Linked DNA regions of Homo sapiens: region 2 is linked to region 1. The links are contacts of gene promoters, found by promoter capture Hi-C in human tissues and cell types (Jung and others, 2019). All regions are on one chromosome and are shown on one strand. The core of a region is centred on a gene start or on the middle of the fragment in contact, and the rest is flanking DNA. Distances in the headings are between cores, read along the strand shown. Region 1 holds the start of SLC6A15 (solute carrier family 6 member 15). Region 2 overlaps SLC6A15 (solute carrier family 6 member 15).

Evidence for each region. Contacts are between HindIII fragments. The study calls those that stand out against the background at their distance.
Region 2: a contact is called between a fragment that was not itself captured here and the fragment with the promoter of SLC6A15 in region 1, in 1 of the 25 tissues and cell types used here (bladder).

Annotation. Positions count from the first base shown.
Region 1 is chr12:84,910,305-84,914,705 of GRCh38, forward strand. It overlaps SLC6A15 (solute carrier family 6 member 15), which reads right to left and starts at 2,495. Exons shown (of 12, transcript NM_182767.6): 1 at 2,219-2,495. LOC102724680 (a long non-coding RNA gene) reads left to right here and starts at 2,533. Exons shown (of 4, transcript XR_945154.3): 1 at 2,533-2,600. RefSeq lists enhancers at 1,065-1,613, 2,162-2,709, 2,710-3,256. The HindIII fragment of the contact is 2,941 bases long and covers 1,643-4,401 here.
Region 2 is chr12:84,864,316-84,868,716 of GRCh38, forward strand. It overlaps SLC6A15 (solute carrier family 6 member 15), which reads right to left. Exons shown (of 12, transcript NM_182767.6): 10 at 2,719-2,878. Among named protein-coding and RNA genes, the nearest start is that of SLC6A15, 46 kb to the right of the region's middle. The HindIII fragment of the contact is 4,739 bases long and covers 1-4,401 here.

The DNA.
Region 1 (4,401 bases), core at 1,245-3,744:
ACACAAACTGAAAGCTTTATTTAGAGAAAAATGGTTAATAAATTCCATTTTAAATTTGTTGGGATATGTTTTACCACAACAAATACACATGGATCATTGATGATTCCATAGAAAAGGCAACAACACATAAAAATAAAATCGCCTGATTTTGATGGTCAAATATCTTGAATTTAATATGAGAGAAAAAAATACATACTGTTTGTTAGTCCAAACTGCACCATGTTGTAAGCTCCCTGCTATTTTGCAGACCTTGGTGAAAGCGAAACATTTCACAGGGGTTCGAGCTGTGAGAAACATCCCGTCTAACCAACTGACCACGAGTTGGACAAAGGCCTAACTAAAGAGACATCCCTATCATATCTTGCTGGACAAAGGTCCAAGGAACACCCTGAACAACAGAACGACATCGCGCCGGAACAAGAGCCAGAACCGCCTCTTCATGGAAGCATCTTATTAATATCCCGCGGAGCAGCAAGCCATACTGCTCAGACCCCTTCTGCCCGTACCTATAAATGGCCCCAGCCTGTAAGCGGCAGCGGGCTCCGGCATTAGGCTGGTCCTCCACTTCTGTAGGATTTATGCTGGACAGAAAGCCTGAATTTGCTGTTGAGCCGCCCTCTTTCCGTGTGTGTGTGTGTGTGTGTGTGTGTCTTTAACCCTCGCCTTCCCTTCAAAACCTAACACTGTTCAAAGAAGATTTAGTCCATCATTAAGTATTTATTAAGAACGTACAAGTCAAGCCCAGTACTGGGCGCCTAAGACATAAATAGGTCTGTGTTTCAGCAATGATCTTGCAGAAATGAGGTTGGGTGGGTGAGGGGCTTGTTGGGGCTGTGTCTGCACATAATAATTCCTCAAAACAAACACTTTGTTGCTGGCACAGCAGAAAAGCAATCAGGCATTGACAGGTAGAAAATAGCTTTTACAGCATGGGCGATGAGGAGCCCCAAAGCAGCATATAAAGCAAATCCTTCATTTCTCCCATACGTCTTAAGTAGTGAACCGCAAGGATGGTGCAGACTAAGATTGGGTCTACCTATAAGATCTGGAGGGGAAAACGGCAAGACCAGAAGAAACCGTCGCAGACTTATTTGCATAAGCACCCAAACACTGCTTACGTCACTGCGCCGGAGTCCGGACCCCGCCCCGTCTTACTCCAGCCTTTCCCAGCTAGGGAGGAGGATGGAAAGGGAAAGCGGGACGCTGGAGAGCGCGAGCCTGGGGGCTTTGCTTCCTAAAACGCACATCAAAGGCTGCTTCTCAGCTCAGGAAAAATAATTCCCGTTCCCGCAGCCTGTGCCACTGGGTGGGTCATGCCTGTTCCCGAACGCCTCGGGCGTCTTGATTCATTCTTATGTATCCAGTTGGTGCGCTACGTTAGAGTGCAAGGATTTCCCTGTACTCAATACCGTCTTCTTCCCAGTCACACACAGACCAGCCTAGTGAAAGAAAGGTAGAAACGATCTGGGTTTCTAACTGCTTCCCATCTTCTTACAGTCCCAGCAGCACCACCCTCACCGCCACACTCTCAAATTCCAGGATGCGCAGAAACACAGGAGCCGTGATTTCTCCAGCAGCCACGTGCCTTTCGTACGGCGAAAGGCCCCCTTTCGGGCCATTTATCACAGGATACCTCAAGCAAAGGGGAACTGTGGTCACGTGAAAACACTCTGTCCTCGGTAGTCGCCTTCTGCCTTTGCTAAAGCGAACGGAAGCGAATGAGGAATAAAGCTCTCTGCTCTCCCCGCCCCATCGCCCACCTGCACGAGGTTTAGCTTCCAATTCACCTCGCGTCTCTCTCTGCCCCAACCCTCCCAACTTTCCTCTTGGACTTTCCCGTGTTGGACCCCACCCTTCAACCAACCCCGACTTGGCTTGGAAACGAGTAGGTCTCTGGGGATGCTGTGGGCAATTTCCACGACGGGAAGAAAGGATGGCGGCACGTTTCAACCCATGTGCTTCCCCTTACATGTGCAGCCTGTCGCCCCCCACCCTGATTGTACAGAGATGCAGAGTTAGACGGTTGCCCGCCCAGCCCAGCTTCTCCCTCCCAGGGCTTTTGAGCTGCCCTCCCTCCTCCCACCCCAGGACGCAGCGAGTCCTTCCCGGCATCCATCCATCAATTCGTTCCCGGTGCTGGTGCCCAGGCTCCTGGGTGGCTAATGGCGAGCCCCACCTCACCCCCAGTTGTGCCCTTAGCGTAGGCGCTTGCCATTACCGTCAGTGTGTCTTGACCAAGCGCCTCTTGCTGCTTCCACGTCCGGGCAGCAGCAGCAGCAGTCGCGAAAGGGTAGGGTCCAGGTGGCTGTGACGGAGGCCGAAGAGGAGCTGTTGGCAGAGAAGCAGCTTCTTGCCTAGGTTGGGACCCGGAGCTGGGTTTTGGGGGTCGCCGCCCTGCAGGCTGGCAAGGAGAGACTCGTGAGCGCCTGTGTGTCTGCCAGGGAAACAGCACGGGATACAGGCGCGCGGGTGCGGGTGCGCGTGTACATGCGTATGTGTGTGTGCGCGCGCGCGTGTGTGTATGTGTGAGGGTGTGACGGAGGCGCCCACGTGCTCGGCCCGCCCGTGTTACGGCCGCCTACCGGCTGCAGAGGAGAAGGGTAGGCTGTGGGCGGCGGCGGGGCGCGGAGGGGTAGCCAGGAGCGCAGGCTGGGCTCCGCACCTCCCTGCCCCAAAACCCATTGATGCAGCGGCCACTGCGGCTGCCGAGCGGCGTCTTCCCAGAGCCCGGGGCTGTGCCCGCCCGATGCAGGATGCAACTGAGGAAGCCCGCTCCAAAGCAAAACAAAACAAATTCCTCCAGCCATGCCGTCTTTCTCCAACCCACTCAAGCGAAAGAATGGACACCAGTTACCAGCCGCTGACTTTTGTCTCAGTGAGAATAATAATAGGCATGGTGCTACCTGGCACCATCTGAATATTCTCCAAGAGTCAGTAATGGGACTAGAAAAAATGGGTGACCCAAAGAACCCTTTTCCCTACCTATTCCCCCAAGCCGGCCATTTACATCTCTTGCGAAAGAAAAAGCCTCTGGGCATTGGCTTCTCCGTCAGGCGGTGGCCTCATAGCGCTCAGTGATTCTCGCCAGGTTATGAAAGGCCGTTTTAGAAAGCTGGCCCTCACCCACCCTGTGTTGGTGCCTCAGCAGCAGACTTTTTTCCAAGGGGTCTCATTACAAGATGAAGCCTGACTTACCTCTGCTAACAATCAAGGCATGCTCGTAATTAAGCCACGTGGAGAATTCCTAAAATATACACCTCTGAACACAAAGCTTAGCCTCCTTTTGAAAATGGCTGAACCGTCCCCTAAACAGTGCGTATGCTCTAAGGATGAAATTTTCCGTCCTTGAAACGTTCAAAATTTGAAAGAAATACAAAATGAACCTAGAAGCTAGGTAGAAAGGTTCAGTAATTTAGCAAAGTTAATTTTTCACTTCCAGATTATTAATATTACTCTTAAAAACTACTTTTGTGCACTTTTAGGCCTTTTAACAATCCCTTAGATTTTTACGGTTCGTATCCAATTAAGATTGAATTAAATTAAAAAGGCCATTGCAAACAGGTTTTTCATGCAGTGAAAAATCTCTTGGAAAGAAATCACAAGACCTAAATTTCAGGTCAGAACATTGCTACTAATCCTTAGCTTTTAAAACAGCCAAGAGAGTTTTTTCTCAGCCTCTCTTCCAATCCCAACTTTGAAAAATTAAAAGTTAAGAAATTAAATTAGATTTGATTCCCTGATACGCCTCCCCTGCCATGAGTAAATAAATGCTCTTTGATAGATGCGCCACGTGAAAAAATAAAAACAGTCAAAATAAACCTTTTATAGGACTTTTTTTGCTTTTTACTTCACATTTTGGTGACAGGCAAATATTTAATGTTGATATATAAAGAAACTGAAATACAGTACCAACATTATCAATAACAACTGAGAAAATTTTAGGAAAATAAGGAGAGCTGTGTCCACCATGATCAGGATTAGGATTATCTGTGGGAAACAAAGTTATCCATATGCTGGCAGAAATCGTTTACGGTAGTACCAAGAAGTACGAAAATTATTTCTCTCCCACGCTTTTTCACTAGTGTCTGATACCTAATTCCAATACATATGCATAGGTCACAAAATATTTGTAGAGCGATGCCCTCCATAATGACTGATACTAATTTATGTCTCAATGCCAATGAAGAGAAGTAGGAGAAAGCAACTATTGTTTTAAGCTTCCCACTAAGTACCTGGGGCTTAATAATATCTTATTTAATCCTCTCAACTAATTAATGAGGTGATTTTTCCTAATTTAGAGATTAGAGAGAGGTGATACTCAAAAAAAATTGCAAAAAGTCAGAAAACTTGTTCAATGACAGAATGGAGAAATAAATTCAGATATGCTGGCCTCAAACTTCA
Region 2 (4,401 bases), core at 904-3,403, 46 kb before region 1:
CTTTCTTTTTTTTTTTTTTTTTTGAGACAGAGTCTCACCTGTTGCCCAGGCTGGAGTACAGTGGCACAATCTCGACTCACTGCAACCTCATCTTCCCAGGTTCAAGCAATTCTCCTGCCTCAGCCTCCCGAGTAGCTGGGATTACAGGCGACCACCATCACGCCCGGCTGATTTTTGTATTTTTAGTAGAGATGGCGTTTCACCATGTTGGTCAGACTGCTCTCGATCTCCTGACCTCAAGTGATCTGCCCACCTTGACCTCCCAAAGTGTTGGGATTACAGGCTTGAGCCACCACACCTGGCCCAGTCTTAATCTCTATGTTTCTCTTCCCTTTTTCATTTCTTCCAAGTTGCTCCAGAATCTTAAAGGACATCTTCAATGTAAGAATTCTACACCTGCCCTTTAGAAAAAATATGAACTTTGAAGACCAAGAGACCTCATTTCAGATCACAGTTCTGTGTTCTTTTGATGTATATCTTAATCTCTCTAAGCTTCATTTTTGGTGTTTTCCAAAAATATAATATAATACCCACCTTTGAGGGTTATTACTAGAACCATAAACAATGGATGCTTAGCATACTACCTCACATATGGTACAAAATCGACAGATGCATCTATTAGTAGTAGTATTTTTTCTTCTGTTGTTATAAATAGTGTTATTCAGGAACACTAGCATTAAAAAGAGAGATTCTTTAGTAAGTCTATCATGAATAACGAACTGTCTAAATGGAAATCTAAATTACAAATGTATTTATTTACAGATCAGTCCAAAAACAATATCAAATTCCATCATGGTACAGGTTATGAGTTTTGAGTAGCCTAGTAAAGCTTAGAGAAACCTGGCCTTGAAATGAAGGTCAAGGTTACAGTACTGGCTCTACAGCTAACATATTGTATCCTCCTGTAAAAGAAGGGGCAGTTTCCCATCTGTAAGATATGGATCATGTTAGTTAACAAGGAGTATTTTTTGATTACACACTTTATTTTTTAAGAGCAATTTTAGGTTCACAGCAAAATTGAGCTGAAAGTAGAGAGATTTCCCATATAGCTCCTACCAATATATGTGCATAACCTCCTCCATTATCAGCAACCCCCACGAGAGTGGAATGTTGGTTACAATTGATGAACCTACATAAGTTAACACATCATTATTACCTAGAGCCCACAGTTTACACTGGAATTCACTGTTTGTGTAGTACATTCTCTGGATTTGGACAAATGTATAATGACGTGTGTCCACCATTACAGTGTCATACAGAGTAGTTTCACTGCCCTAAACATTCTGTGCTCAGCGTATACATCCCTGGATCTGGCCCAACCCCTGTTAACTGCTGATGTTTTTACTGTTTCCATAGTTTTACCTTTTCCATATTATAATATAGGGGAATCTTACAATATGTAACCTTTTCATATGTGACTTTTTTCACTAAGTAATGTGCATTAAAATTTCCTCTGTGTCTTTTCATGGATTGAATAATATTTCATTGTCTGGATGTATGACAATTTATCCATTTACCTACTAAAGGATATCTTGTTTGCCTCCAAGTTTGGGCAATTATGAATATAGTTGCTATAAACACCCACGTGCAGAATTTTAAGTGGGCATAAGTTTTCAACTCCTTTGGGTAAATACCAAGTAGCATGATTGCTGGATTATACACTAAGAGCTATTACTACTATTATTATACAGTACATGATTATTAAATGTAAGTTCTCCTAAGCTTCCTGACCTGGAGCTTTTGGCAACCACAAAAAACATTCTCTAAGCTTTGTTATAAAGCTCATTCAATACCCACAATATTCTTTATGCTGCTTAAAAGGACTCTGGCCTTCACTTAAGGTGCATGCATTACTACTTTACATAGGGCTGTAATGAGCTTGGTGATCTTACTACCTCTCAGTCCATGTATGTGATTAGAGACAGTGACTATAAAAAGTATTGGACAAATCCTCCAAAGGTCTTTTTCCCTTGAGAGAACTCTGGTGCTTCACATCATTTCAAATACATACACTTTTCACATCAGTGTACCTGAATGGTGTGAAAAGTATGTGTATTTGATATGAATTTATGAATAAATAGTGAATTTATTCATTATTTATGCGTATAGTGAATTTAAGTAATGACTCTATATAAAAATAATGTTTCTGTGCAGCAAATGACATATACATCTCAGACCTGGGAAAATATCATTTCCCAATATTGTCCTGCTATATAAGGCATTATGACACATGCACTCCTCTTATAAATCAATTTAGCAATATAATTAGGAGATAAGCTTTAGAGTTAAACAGAAATGGACATGAGTCCCAGGTCTGCTGCTGTCCAGGTGGGTGACAGGCAAGTCACAGGGTGTCTCTCTAAGCTTGATTTTCCTTATCTGTGAAATGTAGATAACAATAAAGAACTCAAAAGAAACTAAGGTTCTTGGAACTCTGCCAATACTTACTAAATCCTGAAAGTTAGCTATTTGATAACCAGGACCAAATCAAAGATCTAAAATTCTACATACTATTACATCCTATATAATTCTATTTGCCCAACAGGGAAATGTAATTTACCAAAACTGTTGAATCAGTGAGAGCCTGCAAAAGGTTTGATTTTTTAAAGAATTGTTCCCTCTATTCATTTATTTCCTCTTCTAAATGAAATGAACATTGATAATTGATGTTTTCAAACTAGAGATTAAAAGTGAATACATAAAAGCAAATATACTTACTTATCTATGCCATAAACAAAGCATACAGCAATATTCTCCAAAATGACTACAATTAGCAGAGGCAGTGTAGCAGAATAATCATCAAACATTGTAACAAAGTAATTTCCAGAGCGTTGCACAAATATCAGGCCAATACAAAATGCCAGAAGACAACAGATAACTAGACAAAAGAAATAAATGAAAAAATGAGACTCTATTCAGAGACAAGGCCTTTAAACTTTATTATAAATTATTATATTCAAACTTTTAAAACTTTTATAACATGTCCATCATATAAACAGGCAATACCTTTCCTGATACATGGCATATAACCTATTAGGAATTAGGTTACCTGGGTGTAGCCTCAACATTCATACAAATTTATTCTAAGACAGTAATTCATCTCCCTGAGCCCGTGGAAACTCATTTACCAAGTACAATAATAAATGAGTCAAAGTTTAGAGAAAAATTTAAAAGTATAAATTTCCATACTCTATTCGTATAATTAATAGCAAAGTGACTTCTTCAGGCACCAAATATTTATAGGTCATTTATTCATTTAATAATGTTCTACAGTGTTGAAATATAGATGAGATTTTTGAATTAATAATGAGACTAATATTGCTTATATTATTATGAAATATACATATTATATATTTGATTGAAATATGGTTACTTTTCAAGCATAAGTGGAAAAATCTGACCAGACTTAACCTCAGCAACAATCCACATTTATATCTTTATCTTGCCTGAACAGATTAGTTTGGAAACAAATTATAATGGAGTTGAGCAATCTGATCATCCACATAACATCTAAGAAAAATCATCTAAAAAGAGTTTCCCCAGTAATAGCTAAGAAACAGATGCATAAATTTCTGACCAGCTACTACTTAGAAAAGTTTTTGAAATTCATATAATATTCCCATATTTTTGTTAGACTCTGTTCTTTTGTGCTCATTAGCAGAGAAGCCTCCAAAGGTAAAAGATGACTGCATTCCATTTCTCAACCACATTTCGGCAGAGGTGAGTAAACTTGAAAGAAGTAGAGTAGTAATGGCAGCTAAGGAAAAAAGACATCCACGGAGTCAATCATATGAACACTCCCTAACAATTTCAGCAAGTATGTGTGACATGAAGAAATTACCTCCATCTCTTAAGTACTATACTAGTGCTGTGAGTTACATCTTACAGAAATGAATGTCATATGTAAACATATAATGTAGAATAAGAAAAGTAACATTTACTTGGATTCTACTGCATATTAAATTTAAATGCTTATCACAGTATAAAATAATATTGCATTCTCTTACTTAATTTTTATGACATCCCAGTTGAACAATGTATTACTTTGTTTACAGATGAGAGAAATGATCCTGAAGAACGTTAAGTAATGTGCTTAAATTCTCAAGCTGGAAGTAGCAGAGTTTGGATCTGCACCCAAATCTGTCTGCCTCAACAGCCTGTGTCACTTTCACTATCTCCTAATTACACCCCAGTATGAGGCAAATATAAAAAAGTGCATTATAAGTGGTACAGACAGTAAGAGTTTTGCTGGAGATGTGAGGGAAAAAGATAATGAGTAATTCATTTGCCTAAATCTTACTGCATAAAGAAGTAAACACACCTACCAAAGAAAATGAGGTAATATTTCATTGAGGTCAAACACGACTACGATTTGAAGTATCAGTATGATCCCAAAAAACA